Linked DNA regions of Homo sapiens: regions 2 and 3 are each linked to region 1. Evidence: promoter capture Hi-C in 16 types of primary human blood cells and fetal thymus (Javierre and others, 2016). All regions are on one chromosome and are shown on one strand. Each heading gives the region's core, a stretch centred on a gene start or on the middle of the fragment in contact. The rest is flanking DNA. Distances are from core to core; before and after follow the strand shown.

Region 1 (4,442 bases), core at 1,347-3,846:
ACACGGGCTGGTAGCACTTGCCTGATGGTTGCCTTTTGGTTAGAGGCTGCAGTCACCTCCCCTAACCACTGTCCCCCACCTGCCTTTCCTTTACATAAAAGGTTTATATTTCCTGGCTGTCCTTTACTCTCTGTTGTGGAACATGTTCCACAGCTTTGCTGTCAACAAGCAGTTCTTGGGGGAGGTGTCTGCGGCATGAAATTTCTTTGCATTTTATCACTTTTAATACTTGACCATTCAGACTGAAGGCATCTTCGGCTTAGTTTCAAAGACAGGGTAGGCAGCCCTCATTCAGAGATGTAGGACATAAAAGGTTTTTATCCTTCCCTGTGTAACTACTCACATAAAGACCGCATTAGCCAACCTGGATTTCCTACAGAGCGTGGGTTACCAAAACATTTCACTAAAAATGAACTTTTAAGAAAATAGGAAACCTGTGAAATTACAAAGTTTACAAAAGACTCTAATTCCTACAATGACCTGGAGGTTAAACACACACACACAGACACACACACACACACGCACACATACTGCCACTACCCTGCTAAAAATCCCTGAAATAGTTAATATTAACAATTTGACAGTGCCATTTATCCAGAGATAGTAATCAAATCACCTACTGTTATAGACTTGGCTTGGGGGGCAGTGAGAATATATAGTTTTCTTAAGATCTTTCCCTCCTTGCTTTGAAAAGTACATCCCCCCCTCAAGACTCTCATGCTCCCCCTCCTTCCAAAAAAAGAGAAAAGGGGAGGGGGAAGCCCTAGGGATGAAAGAGGACTCCTCACCCTAGAATGGGGTTATCTTAACCTCTTCTACGCTATTTATTTAACTTGTGTGTACAGCCAGAAGGAAGCCACTACTCTGGGGTCCCTGGGACAGCTTAAAACCCTAGTGACCCACTTAACACAATAGATTGTTTTAATCAGTTCGTGTCCTGGCACCATCTCGAAGGGGAACATAAACAGACGCGCACACCGCTCAGATTTGCTCTTTCCAGCAGGAGATCCAATTACCTATCGGTGGTCACCTCTCTGCCCTCGGACCGTTTAAGAGGGGGATTTTAACCCCTAACGCTGAGGCTGTATTTCTGTCTATAAGAGCCGAGATTCGGAGTCGGTCGAGGAGGGGAAGGCAGTAGACGGATTCGACCCGGGAATGCATTAGGGACAGCTCCGGGCGCGCAGGAATTTCTTCACAGCAGAGGCTGGTCACCTGCCGTCCGTCCCTCCCCGCCTGGCCCGGTGACCGTCGCCAGAGCCTGGCGCAGGCAAATAAACGCCAAGCTGGGGCACCCCCAAGGAGGAGCTGCGATCCGAAGGCAATGCCAAGCGAGAGCGGTGGCGCGTCTGTTCTTCCGGAGTCTGTAGTCTACAAATAACTCCGGCCAGCAAGGAGGTGACAGCCCCAATATACCTCCCACTCCCCTGCTATGGCCTTGCTCCGCAAGCTGTGGAGGGGCCAGCGGAGCCAGCCAGGCAGCGAGAGAGAACGAAAGACGCCCAGCTCGTTGCAGCCGCCAACCCGCCTCAGCCGCCAGTCCCTAGTCCTCAGGAGCTAGTGAGGCGCTGCAAGGCGAGGCTGGGGCCTCTAGAACACAGTTTAAGGGGTGCGCGCGGAAGTGGGAACCAGCCGGTGGCCGCTGCCCGGCGCCAGAACGTCTACCATTCAGCCCGGGCGTGCGCGGGGCGGGGAAGAGGCTGGAGTAGAGAAGCGAGCGCCCGCGAGTGCGTGGCCGGTCCGCGAGCGCGTGTGGTGTCTGCCTTGTGAGCACTGCGGGTTCGCTGGACCCCGCGGCCAGGGCCGCGCCCCGCACCGCAGCTGTCGGATTACCCACCGTTCGGTTTTCCGCTGTGGCTGAACACAGCGGCTCTGCCCTTGCCAGTCTCCATCTCACCTCGGGGATCGGCAAATGCACACATCATGGATTCTCCGGATGCTCCAACCCGCGGACTCCAATGGGCGCCCCAAGACGCCCCCAGACCCAGCGCGGCGCCCCAAGCACATGGGACCCTCTCAAGGCAACTCGCCGCGCAGTCAGCGGCCGACTAGCAGGTCCGGATGCTCCTGCGCTCTGGCGGCCTGGACTTCGCGCCCTCGCTAAGCGGGCGCGTCTGCCAGGCGCTGCTGCCACCAGCACCAGGAGCGTGTTCGGGGGCCTCCGGGAGGTGGAAACGGGATGTGGGGGTCATCCTGCCCGCTCCTGACAACTTTTTTTCCTACGTTTCCCTGCAGACCCAGAGCAGCGAGGTCACGGTGTCCGCGGCCTCAGCAGGAAGGACCCCGCGATGGTTCTTCACAATTCACCCCCGCGAACAACGCACCCGAGCCTGCGCGCACGGAGGGCTGCCGCGCGTGGAACTGAGCGGGTCCTGGGTTGGTTTGCGGCCCTCTTCCCTCCGCCCACTCACATCCCTGCCGGGTGCGTCCGCGCTCACCTGTCAGTGCGGCGGGTCCTCGGGGCCTGCGCTTTCGACGCGTGGCGCTGAGTGCGGCCGCGGCCAGAGCCGCCGGGGCTCGGCGCGGGGTCAGCGGGACCGAGAGTGACGCGGCGGCCGTGCACTGGGTCGCCCGGTCCGCGGAAGGCGCACCGAGTGCCAGGCATCGCGCCGTCTCCCGTTTAAATGCCGGCGGCAGAGCGCGGCGCCCGGGGCCGCGCCTCTCCATTGGCCAGGCGCCGCCGCCGCCGCCAGACCCGCTATCCGCCCCCTTTCCCGGTACTGCCCCCGCCCCCCGCACCCCTCCTGCTTCCCCGCGGGGTCCCCTCTCCGCCCGCCTCGCCTCTTTGTCTGCTCCCCCCGCCCGGGCCGGCTGGGAGAGGTCACCCCAGGGAACCGCGCCTGGAATGCACAGCAAATCACATTTTCCGCTCCCGTTGGAGAGGGAAGAGCGGGAGGAAATCCCCCCGGCTGGCGGCCCCTCATTCCTTCTCTGCCCCAGGTCTGGGCTTTCCCTGTCGGCCGCCCGGCATCGCCTGCGTTGGTCCCGCGCTCAGTAGCGGAGACTGCGCTGGGAAGAGCGAGATCTCCGTGGGATCGTGCCAGATTCGGCCATTCTTCCCCTCTGGAGGGAACGGGACTGCGGGATGCTCTGGTCGAGCGGCCGTCGTGGCTCCCCGGCGGCCCCGCCCGAGGCCCCCAACTTCGAGGGCGCTGACCCCGGCGCCCCCGTTAACCTGGCGGGCTCGCTGGCCGCCAGCAGGAGCCTGTCGCCAACATGACACCCTGCTCTCCTCGCCCGCCAAGGGTTCTTTCAGCCCAGATGCCGGCGGCCTCCCCTGTGAGTGTACAGAGGGGAGTCACGGGAGGAGAATAAAACTAAATGACCGTCAAAAGTCAAGGCTTCTGTTCCTAAATTATCTTAAGAGACAGAGAGAAAACAGCCACTGGGCGAGAGGGGTTTTCTGTAGCATATCAAAGACGAATAAGTCAGGAAAATAAAACGTTAGATGAGGAAGTAACTTCCCAGAAATTTAGGACAAAAACCTACCGACGTGTAAAACCAATGTCACATTCCGGATACCAAGTACATAAATAGTTTTCGAAAGATGAGCGAACACTTTCATTTGTTCTCTTAGCCTGAAAAATTGGTTCCTCAAAGAGGCCGTAAGTTTTGTGTGTTGAAGCTAAAGTCCGTGCAAAAATTAACACGTCTGCAAGATCTGCAGACCAGCTCCATCAGCCACGTCAAATGAAGACTTTGAAAAAGATTTGCTACAGAAGGAAATATGAAGGTGTCTGTATTGTCTAACGCGAAATAAACAAAACAATGAAATCCATCAAAAGATACTTACGAAACACCCGTAATTTAAGTACTTGACTAGGAAAACAAAACCAGACCAGAAAACAGCCTATTTTTTTTTTCTCTTTAGTCCGGCGTTAGGGGGAAGAAGCAAGAAACATCTACTAGATGCTGTTAGGAACGTGAAATAGATATTTTTAAATAAATGAAGCAAGAAGGACGTCTGCATTAGTATCCTTAAAATCTTAGTCCTCTCAATGTTTTGTTTGTGCAGATGGCAGTTTCTACACATGAACTCGAGGCTGCACTTTACAATTCTCAATCAGTTGTTGTTAAGTCATGCAGTGAGCCACAGTTTGTAGTTGCCTACAGAATGGGAGCATTGAACCAGCTTGAAGACCTGTCTTGCTCACGTGGGCTCCTGGAGAGATAGGTAATCAGAAATACACAAAATACTTAGGCGATGACCAGTTCAGTCGAAGCCCACCACCAAGCTGTATTGGAGCCAGCTGTTCTCCCAACGTGCAAACTGCTGTACTTCTCCCCACAAAAGGGAGCATATTTTACAAATTCATTAAGTCCTCCTCATCTAAAATAAAAGCTTTAGTCACTTCTTTTTTTCCCAAGACTTATATACTGCCCCAAATCAAATACAAAGAAGCTGAAATTACCTCCCAAAATGGAAGTGATTTTTTTTTTTT
Region 2 (4,442 bases), core at 867-3,366, 300 kb before region 1:
GTCCAATATTTTATTTTTCTGATATAGAAATTAGGCTCCTTTCTGTAAGTTATTGAACAACATAGTAGGTTGACTCACTGATAATTCACTTCTTTTTTGAAAAAAAAAATCAACTATTTTTAGAGTAGTTTTAGGTTGATAGAAAAATTGAGCGGAAAGTAGAGTTCCCTCTCACCGTCTACTGCGCCCACATACCACACTTTCCCTTAGTATTAGCATTCTCCATTGGAGTGGTACATTTGTTACAGTTGACCCAATACATTATTATTAACTAAAGTCCACAGTTTACATTAGAATTGGCTCTGTACTGAAGATGGATTTTGAATAATGTATGACCCGTATCAACTATTATAGTAGCATACAGAGTAGTTGCACTGTCCTAAAAACCCCCTGTCGCTCCACTGATTCCTCCCTCCTCCCAAGGCCTTGGCAACCACTTTTTTTTTTTTAAATTATGCTTTAAGTTCTAGGGTACGGCCTCATCCTTTTTGAAGAGGCAGGGTGAACCCCAGCCACCCCAAATTTGATTGAGATGCCAATATTGATGACCGCAGATGCATTATGTGTTTGCACACACACAAGGGCATGAAAAGATTTATTATTCACATAAGGAGACCTCTGGGGAAAGCGAGACAGGCCTCTCAAGCTGGTCCAAAAATGACTTGCAAGAGAAAGTGTAGAAAACTGGCTTGGGGTTTTTATGGCGTTCAACAGACAGTACTGGGCTATGGCTTCTGCGGGCAGTGGTCTGTGTGGTTCACATCTCCTGCGTCAAAGCCTTTACTATCAGATCGCCCAGGTGTGTGGGACACCGGGGAAGAAGGAGGGGTGAGGCTTAAAAACTGTCAGGAGTCAATCATCAAACAGTGGAGTTAGATCTCTTCCTGTGCTTTTGCTGACGTGTGTGCTGGTTGAAGGCCCGCTGACAAAAGGTGTTGGATCAACATTACAGGTAACAGCCTCTCACCAGCTGCTAGCCTGAGACACCCAGTTAAAAAGCTCTGCTGGCAGCTGTTGACTACTTTCTCTTTACTTCACTGCCTTTGAATCTACCTCCACTGTTTCTGACAGACACAAAACCGGTTATGCTTTCTTCAAACTGCACAGTTACTAAGGACTGCATTGTTTATAAGCATCTGGAAGGGAAACAGAGGACTCGCAGGGCCCCAAGACCAGGCTGCACACTTTGGTTTCATAAGCTTATTAAATATGAAAGCTCACATTTGATTTTTATTCTTAGATTTTGGAATAAATGACTTGTGACTCTGCCTTACATGAACTGTGACCATTTTTGTCAATGTTAGAAATGGTCAGAGAAGCTTTGTGCATTCACTCACGGATGAGTTTGTTTGAATTTGTATTTATCTGTCAGTGATTAGCATATTTTTTCAAATGTCATCCTTTATGCACCAGCTTCTTGAAATTTGATACATATTTATACTATTTTTACTATTATTTAATTTGTTATTTTAATGAATTTACTGTTTTTGCTTAAATAAGCCTTATTAAAGCAGTGGTTCTCAAACTTTGCTGTGCATTATAATCACTTGGTAGGCTTGGTAAAGTAGCCTCAGAGATTCCAAGTCAATAAATCCACCGTAGAGGAAAGAATTTGCATTTCTAAGATGTTCCAGGTGATGCTGATGCTCCTGGTCCAGGGACCAAACTCCGATCAACACTATCTGGGAAGCATTATCAGTGAAATCACGGGTTTTATGTGTGTGTTTGATAATTTTTCCCTAATGCACATTAAAACATTTAACTGTCAAAATAAAAAGTTCAGATACCTACAAAAAATGACCTTGCCGGTGTGTGTGCTAAGTTTTGGAAGCACTGATTGAGTATCGTCCAAGTATAATTCAGAGGAATGATTTTTTTTTTTAAGTCACATATGTACTTGAAAATACAACAATGTGAGGTAGTGGGTAAAGGCCAGTGAGAGGCACAGGCCGGACATATCAGGATCCGCGGGTAGGAGTAGATCCATGTTTCCTACTCAGTGGAGAATTCAGAAAGTTTCTACTTCCTAACTGTACATAATCCAGTTTTGCCCATGTCATGTGCGTGTGTGATGCGGTGGAGGCTTGGATATATGTGTAAGAAAGAGCGCATAAATGAAAATCAGATTTAACCAGAAACTAGTAACTACAGGCCCTGAAATTCCCTTAGAAAAGACAGACGAATCATAATCACAGAACTTGTCGGTGCCAGCCATTGAAATTCACACCATTCACTCTGACCCCTGGCTCTTCAAACCTCCCTGTGATTAAAATTAGCATTCCCCTTTTACAGAATTATGAAAAAAGTTACCCCAAGTTTACGAGTGATTCTGGTAATAGGATAAAGCAAGCAACTTTGAAGTTTACAGAGGCTTGGGGTTTTGTTTGCATCTGCTGCTTATGTAACCAAAAGAACGGCAAGAACGAAAACAAGGGAATAAACAAAAACTCTGCAGAGCCAGCACACGTTCTTTGGGTCTGAATGATATTATTGGCACTTAACTAGCATGTGGTTTTAGGAAAGCTGTTCAACCTGAGGCGTTTTCTCATCTGTAAAGTAAGTCTCGATATGATAGGGTCTACCTTTTCAATTTGATGTGAGGATGGCAGGAGTTAATCTGTGTAAAGTGCTTAGAACTATTCCTGAAAAATAACCCTCAATAATGTTATCCGTACCCATATGTAATTAGGTAAACTCATTTAGTAAGTGATGGACTTCAGCAGTGGTTACTGCATGCCTTCTGTGTTTGTGGAATCATCTGTAATTCTGCTCTTCACAAATTGGAGGGCACAAACTTTGTAATGACACCTGGCAGGAAGGATGTTTTGTTATTGTGAACTGATCAAAAAGGAAGGTTTGTGCAACATAAAGGGAAGGAACCAATTAGCTAAATACTAGACTAAGAAAGCTTTATTTGTACAGAGAAAGTTCTTTCATTTTTTTTTCCTCCAAAATGTTGAATCCTGCCAGTTAGGAGCCTTACTCCTTTCTCTGTCTTTCATGGACTACATTATTGTTTTCAAAAAGACGTTCTTTAGACTTGTTTCTTGTGGAATAGATTATTTAAATTGATTTATTAACTTCCATTAGGGGCTAATGTGACTTCAAATGAGTCTGCCCTTTTCAACCCTGATGTAGAATTCCTGTTCCTCCTTTTCACACACTTATAAGGTCCCAGAGCTACTGAATACCAATGCTAGGGTCAAGTTCTCTTTTTAACAAATACACACATCCTTGGTCTTGAGTTGACACCTCTGCCTCCCCATCCTCACACTCAGGCATCTGCAAGCCTCAAGAAGCATCTGGGGGCAGGGGGCTGCCACTAACAAGACACATTTGGAAAGCACTAACTTAGTTTTGACTCATGGACATTATTCTGTAACCTTTATATTCTCTTACTACTCTCTTGTGAACTCTCAAAGTGAGCATTCACCAATGCCAGTAGTAAAGGCATTAGCTTCCTCCTTCTACATGCTGCCCAGGGATTCTGTCATCCTTGTTGGGATGGGAGTGTGTTTCCTGCCACCCGTCACACTGGGACTCTTGGTAAAAATATTTGTTAAAGGAGGAGATGAATCATGCTTTCCTAGATGTTAGCTTTGCAGTAGTCTCCTTCATCGGTTTGTTAATGAATTAGTCATAGCGATATCTGTCACACCCATATAGGTACAATTTACACAAAATGAATCATTGCAAAATATAGTCTGTATAATTTCTATTTAGAATGTAGATGCTATTCTCAAAGGACATCAATTTCACAAGAAGCTTGGTTTAAGTAGCTTTCCTTTGACTACTTTGTAGAAGCTTGGAATTGGTTAGGGTTTGGATATTTATCATGACATGGGTTAGGACTCAACATTTACACAAGATTTAAACTTACTAAGTCACTTTCTGCTTCTTATTTTATGAATTCAGATGTTCTGTTTTGCCTATATTGATATTTGAGGAAACGAATGTAACCAGTTTTCAAAAGAGAAGTATTTTTTCTTTCATTTAATGTTAGATATGCATAAAGATAATTTCGTAAAAAATATCCAATTTAAAGAATAATTTTTCATTTAACACCCATATAACATCTCCTTGCTCAATCACAACCCAACTTGGTTCATCTTCTCCTGGAAACCACCATTCTTCTTAGTTTTGTTAATATTATTGCTTGCTAGTCTTTCTTTTTTTAAAAATAAAAGACACATTTATTCAGCTTCATGATCAGACTATTACATTTAGCAATTGATAGCATGGGTGCAGACAAACCACTGTATTAAAACCCTTGGCTGGAATGCTTTATACTTTCCACAGAACAGAAATTAAAATAACCTGTTATATAACTAATCACAAATATGGTCCTTAACTCTTTTGCCCATACACGGGAGTATTGTATAAAACATGTCTTCTTTGTAGCAGCTAGGCCCTGTGCCACCACTGTGCTTTGCTGAGTTCAC
Region 3 (4,442 bases), core at 558-3,057, 270 kb before region 1:
AAAAGTTTTATAAGCCCACCATAGAAAGGGATCTTTATTTTCATCTACTTGTCTCCTTCTGAATCCTCCTCCTCTTCCCCTCCCAATGTAAACATGACAAAAAGCAATCTGCTTTCTTAGCTACCCTGTATATGTACGGTGTCATGGTTCTCCTAAAACTAAAAGTCTAGGCCAAAAACCTCAGATGCATCCTTGACAACTCCTGCACCCTCTGCTTCACATCTAGTTGATTACCAAATTATGTTAATCTGGGCTCTGTGGTTTCATATATACTCACTGCTTGGCATCCTGTTCCCATCATCCTAACATAGGCCTTGAGCATAGCTTGCGTGTATTCAGCCCACCTTATCGATTATTTAGGTTGTTGCCCGTCTCTTAAAACACCTCTGGTGGCTCACTACTGTCTGTCAAGTTAAGTTCAAAGTCTTGAGCATGGTATTTAAGACCCTCCAATTTATCTTGGCTTTCTTTCTTTTGGTGGGGGGCGGGTGAAGGGGCTAAACTGCACTTGACTACAAAGGGTGGGGAATTATTATGGTTTTCTCTTCCGCTATTTCCCTACACTTTCCCTCCAGCATGCTTTTATCTTTCACTTGGATTTCTCACAATCATCATTTTACCTTTGCCAATTCTTTGTGCCCTGCAAGGGTTCCTCATCATACATGAAACCATCTCTAATTCCCTAAGGCTTCCTCCTCGGAAATTTTGAATTGACTTAGGCACTTAGCAGACTAGTTCTCACATTATAATTATGAAAGCAGAGGTACCTCCACCTACCTTCCATCCCCAGTGTCATGTACATGACGGACATAAACTTTCACTAAACAACAAACAGTTGAATCTGCCATCACAGTAATGCATTAGTCTATAAATTAATCACTGGTTGGTCTTCCTTTCTTCCCCTATAGTGGAAACTGGATGTAAACCAAAGTGATTTCACAGGTAATATTTTTCAAACTCAGAGACAAAGGAAAACTGTAGTGGAAAAACTGTGTTTCCAGAAGGTTTTTTAAAAGATATTTTTGACAGTTTATGACTTTCTGCTGGGAGAATGACATTTACTGTTTCTGACTGTCTTAAATGTGCATTTATCAGATGTTGTGCGTTTAGACAACATTTGCATGATGATTTGCGTTAGCTTAAGTGGAAGCAACATAGACTTACTTGAATTTGTGATATTTTGGAAACCTGTTCATTTTATAGATGGGGAGCTAAAGGGTAAAAGAGTTGGTCTTAGAATCTAGCTTAATGGTTCTCAACTTTCTCAATACATTAAAGGGAGGTGACATGATCACAACAACAACGGGGTTTATTGTAGCCAAGGAAGTTGGCCACCCTGTAAGATTCACCGTCTGGTTACTTCTAGTTAGCAACAAGAGGGCTCAAGACCACGCAGGCAGGAAACTGATAGAAGCACCATGACTGAAAGTCGAGCCTCTTCCCAGTCCATTGCCCCATCATTTATGCCATGTGGAAATTGCTCTGCCAAAGATAAAGTGTTGACTACAGTCTAAGTGATGGGCAGAAAAACCATCACTCAACTCATAATGGTGAGTTGTACTGAGAATATGCTGTCTTAGGTTTAAAGTAGCATATTTAAGAGCAGAATCTTCAGATGACACAAACTCAAACACGCTTCTGTTACGAATGTATAAATCAGTTGGAGGAAAGTAAGGCCACCTCTTTCAAATACTTTGCTCAATTTCAAATTTATTGTTTTTTAAGATTAAAAGGTTGTAAAATACTTCCTCTTCCCCAACGCTTTATCTCTGCAAGGTTAAGAATTGTATTGAGGGTTTACAAATAGGAGCTTGGTAGATTATTTTCTAATTCTCAGATGATTTTTTTCTGATTTGTGAGCTATGGGTCAGTGTCCAGATTGACTATGTCCTACTGTGACCTAGAATCAAACATTGGAGTCCAACAGCATCACTCACTCCCTGCTTATTAGCAACCTAATTACCTAAAAAAAGAAAAAAAAAAAAAAAAAAAAACTGGAGAGACAGGCTGCCAGCTGTCAGGAATACCTTTTAACATTTTTTTCTCCTAAACCTGCAACGAGGCACTACCCAAAGCAAAGAACTTTAAAACACCAGTACTGAGAAACTGTGACTGTTGCTAGAGGATTTTGCATAGCAAACCCAAAAAACCATCTTTTGAAACTAAATTATACTCAACGACAGAAAGACATGTTTCCCCTTTTATGAGCTCCAAGTTTTAGTACTGGCCTGTTAAGTGTTTCTTCATAGGTAAATATTCGGATTTAATTCTATGCTTTTATTCTTACCTGTGTTACACTGATGTGAAAATCTGAAAAATACATGAGACAAATATAAAAAAGTGATTCAGAAGAAAGTAGGCATTTGTTTTTATACTTGGCAACTGCAGTTGAGAAGGGGGTGTATTTTATCAAAGTAAATTTCAACTGAGAAGAATGATCTTCATGCCAATCTTTATAAAAATCAAAGTTTTTTTCTTTCAAACACCTCAGTCCTCCTAATCAGTTTCATATGTTGTGTTAGTGTTATGTTCAAGGACAGGCAGTCAGAAAGCCTTCTGCTCTGATGTGCAGTCGGGGGAAAGGTGATGGTCTAACGTTGAAATTCCTAGTGATCTAAATATTTAGAGTGTGAAGTAGTTTGTAATTATTCGGAGTACATGACTGGCATGGATACTTGAGCCAGTTCATTTTTTCATAAAGGGTACATGGCACCAAACAAGCATGTCATCTCTTGTAACTGACAAATACATTCCACAAAACAGCAACATGTCAATGGTATGAAACGCTACAGCGGTCATGTGGTTTCATGTGGATGTTATACAGCTGACCTTGTATCATTAACCTTTATGGTTAGGTATTAACCTTTGAAACACTTAAGAAAAAATGATGTATGAGTTTTAAGGTTATCCTGTCTCTGCCTTTTCACATTATTAATATGGGCAGCTAATAACATTTAAAATAGAAAAATTGCCTGGGAGAAAAAAATGTAGCCATCTATAACCCTCAGTCAAACTAAAATTGAAGTGACATTTCAAGTTTGAATAGGATAGTTAAATGTTTATTTTGAAAATATTTCATAAATTATAGTCCATGTTTGATCAGTTAGGAAATAAGTCAGATTTAAATTCATACCTTCCAATTACTAGAGAAAACCTGAAATACGTAATTCTTATAACAATTATTCTTTCAAAAAGCACAAATTATGGAGATGAATATCAATCAAAAGTAATATAGTATAATCTAAGGTGGGGGAGGAAAAGAATGTGGTTTGTCTATATTCCAGGAGAAGAGAATCAAGTCAAAATGAGATCTGATCTTTTCCAAGTTATTCTGTCTTCATCTTAGTAGAGTGTAATTCCACATGCATCTTGATGTTCCAAGTATCATTAAACATCTAGTAATCAGAACAAATGTTCTGCCAAATTCCGTTTATTATTTTAACTGGTTAAGGCATTGAGCACTCTAGATTTATACATGTATAATTAAAATTTCTATTAAAAAATAAACCTAGATGGGAGATTTACATTTTTCTTAATCTATGTTTACACAAAGAAGAGATCTGTTTTTAAATATTACATCAGATCTTTGTGAATTCAAATAAATCAGTGTGACACTTTGCCAAAACTATTTGTAAAAATGATGGGTATTGATGCCCTGTGGTCAGGGAATCTTCTCTGTGGGGTTTTAGAATTTGCTTGTTACTCAAAAATACCCTTATTCCGGTTCTCACTGTTGTTTTCAAGCATATAAGCTTAGCCTCAACGGATACACTTTATCATTTGTACACTGTCAGCCCTTATATGTCCTCAATTGCAAGTATTCCACATGAAACAAGTGCAGCTCCAGAAACTTCTGCCTCTTCCTGGATAGATCCATAACTGGATATTTTTGGTAAGCTTAATTGCCTGTATACAGGAACTCAAAAAGAGCCTTGCCACCACAAAGAATAAATCTATAACCCCTATTATCGTGGGTGCTGTTTCAAGGCTCTTTTTGTTGCTCAGCGTATTTTCATGACCCCTCTTCCCATCATCTTGTTGTCTCTCAGTGAAAAATAACTCCTAACATTTGGATGCACATGGACGAAAACACCTGCATTGGCCCCTTAATGTTATTGAAGTGGGAATATATTTAGAACTATAAAAATTCTTACCAATTAAAATGTGATGTGCATTCACAGTTATGGCAATATTAATATCTTTATTTTGACCCATTTGAGATCAATTGATCGACTGTCATCTGGGCCCTGTCCATATTGTAAGATAAGTCAGTTGGGAGGGGCACTAAACAAAACAAACTTCCATGTCTGTGTGGAGATAGACCTGTCAATTTGGACTTAAGAGTGCCAGATTTGTTGAAAAGAATGTAGTCACAGTCAGCTATGCACTTAGCAGCTGTGACCTGGCTGAGGAATAATTGCAGTAATCATACAAATCAGTTT

The links. The method cuts DNA at HindIII sites, captures the fragments that hold promoters and counts their contacts. A CHiCAGO score of 5 or more calls a contact.
Region 2: a fragment that was not itself captured here is called in contact with the fragment with the promoter of GREM1 in region 1 in 4 of 17 cell types (naive B cells, M0 macrophages, M1 macrophages and 1 more); the score reaches 7.3 in naive B cells.
Region 3: a fragment that was not itself captured here is called in contact with the fragment with the promoter of GREM1 in region 1 in 6 of 17 cell types (M2 macrophages, M1 macrophages, M0 macrophages and 3 more); the score reaches 11.0 in M2 macrophages.

Annotation. Positions count from the first base shown.
Region 1 is chr15:32,716,158-32,720,599 of GRCh38, reverse strand. It overlaps GREM1 (gremlin 1, DAN family BMP antagonist), which reads right to left and starts at 2,596. Exons shown (of 2, transcript NM_013372.7): 1 at 2,439-2,596. GREM1-AS1 (GREM1 antisense RNA 1) reads left to right here and starts at 1,735. Exons shown (of 2, transcript NR_109767.1): 1 at 1,735-2,055; 2 at 2,236-2,499. RefSeq lists enhancers at 1,296-1,873, 1,874-2,452, 2,590-3,090. The HindIII fragment of the contact is 6,086 bases long and covers 1-4,344 here.
Region 2 is chr15:33,013,146-33,017,587 of GRCh38, reverse strand. All of the region lies in intron 6 of FMN1 (formin 1), which reads left to right. It also overlaps the pseudogene HNRNPA1P71. Among named protein-coding and RNA genes, the nearest start is that of FMN1, 180 kb to the left of the region's middle. The HindIII fragment of the contact is 1,589 bases long and covers 1,322-2,910 here.
Region 3 is chr15:32,985,602-32,990,043 of GRCh38, reverse strand. All of the region lies in intron 7 of FMN1 (formin 1), which reads left to right. Among named protein-coding and RNA genes, the nearest start is that of FMN1, 210 kb to the left of the region's middle. The HindIII fragment of the contact is 3,894 bases long and covers 1-3,754 here.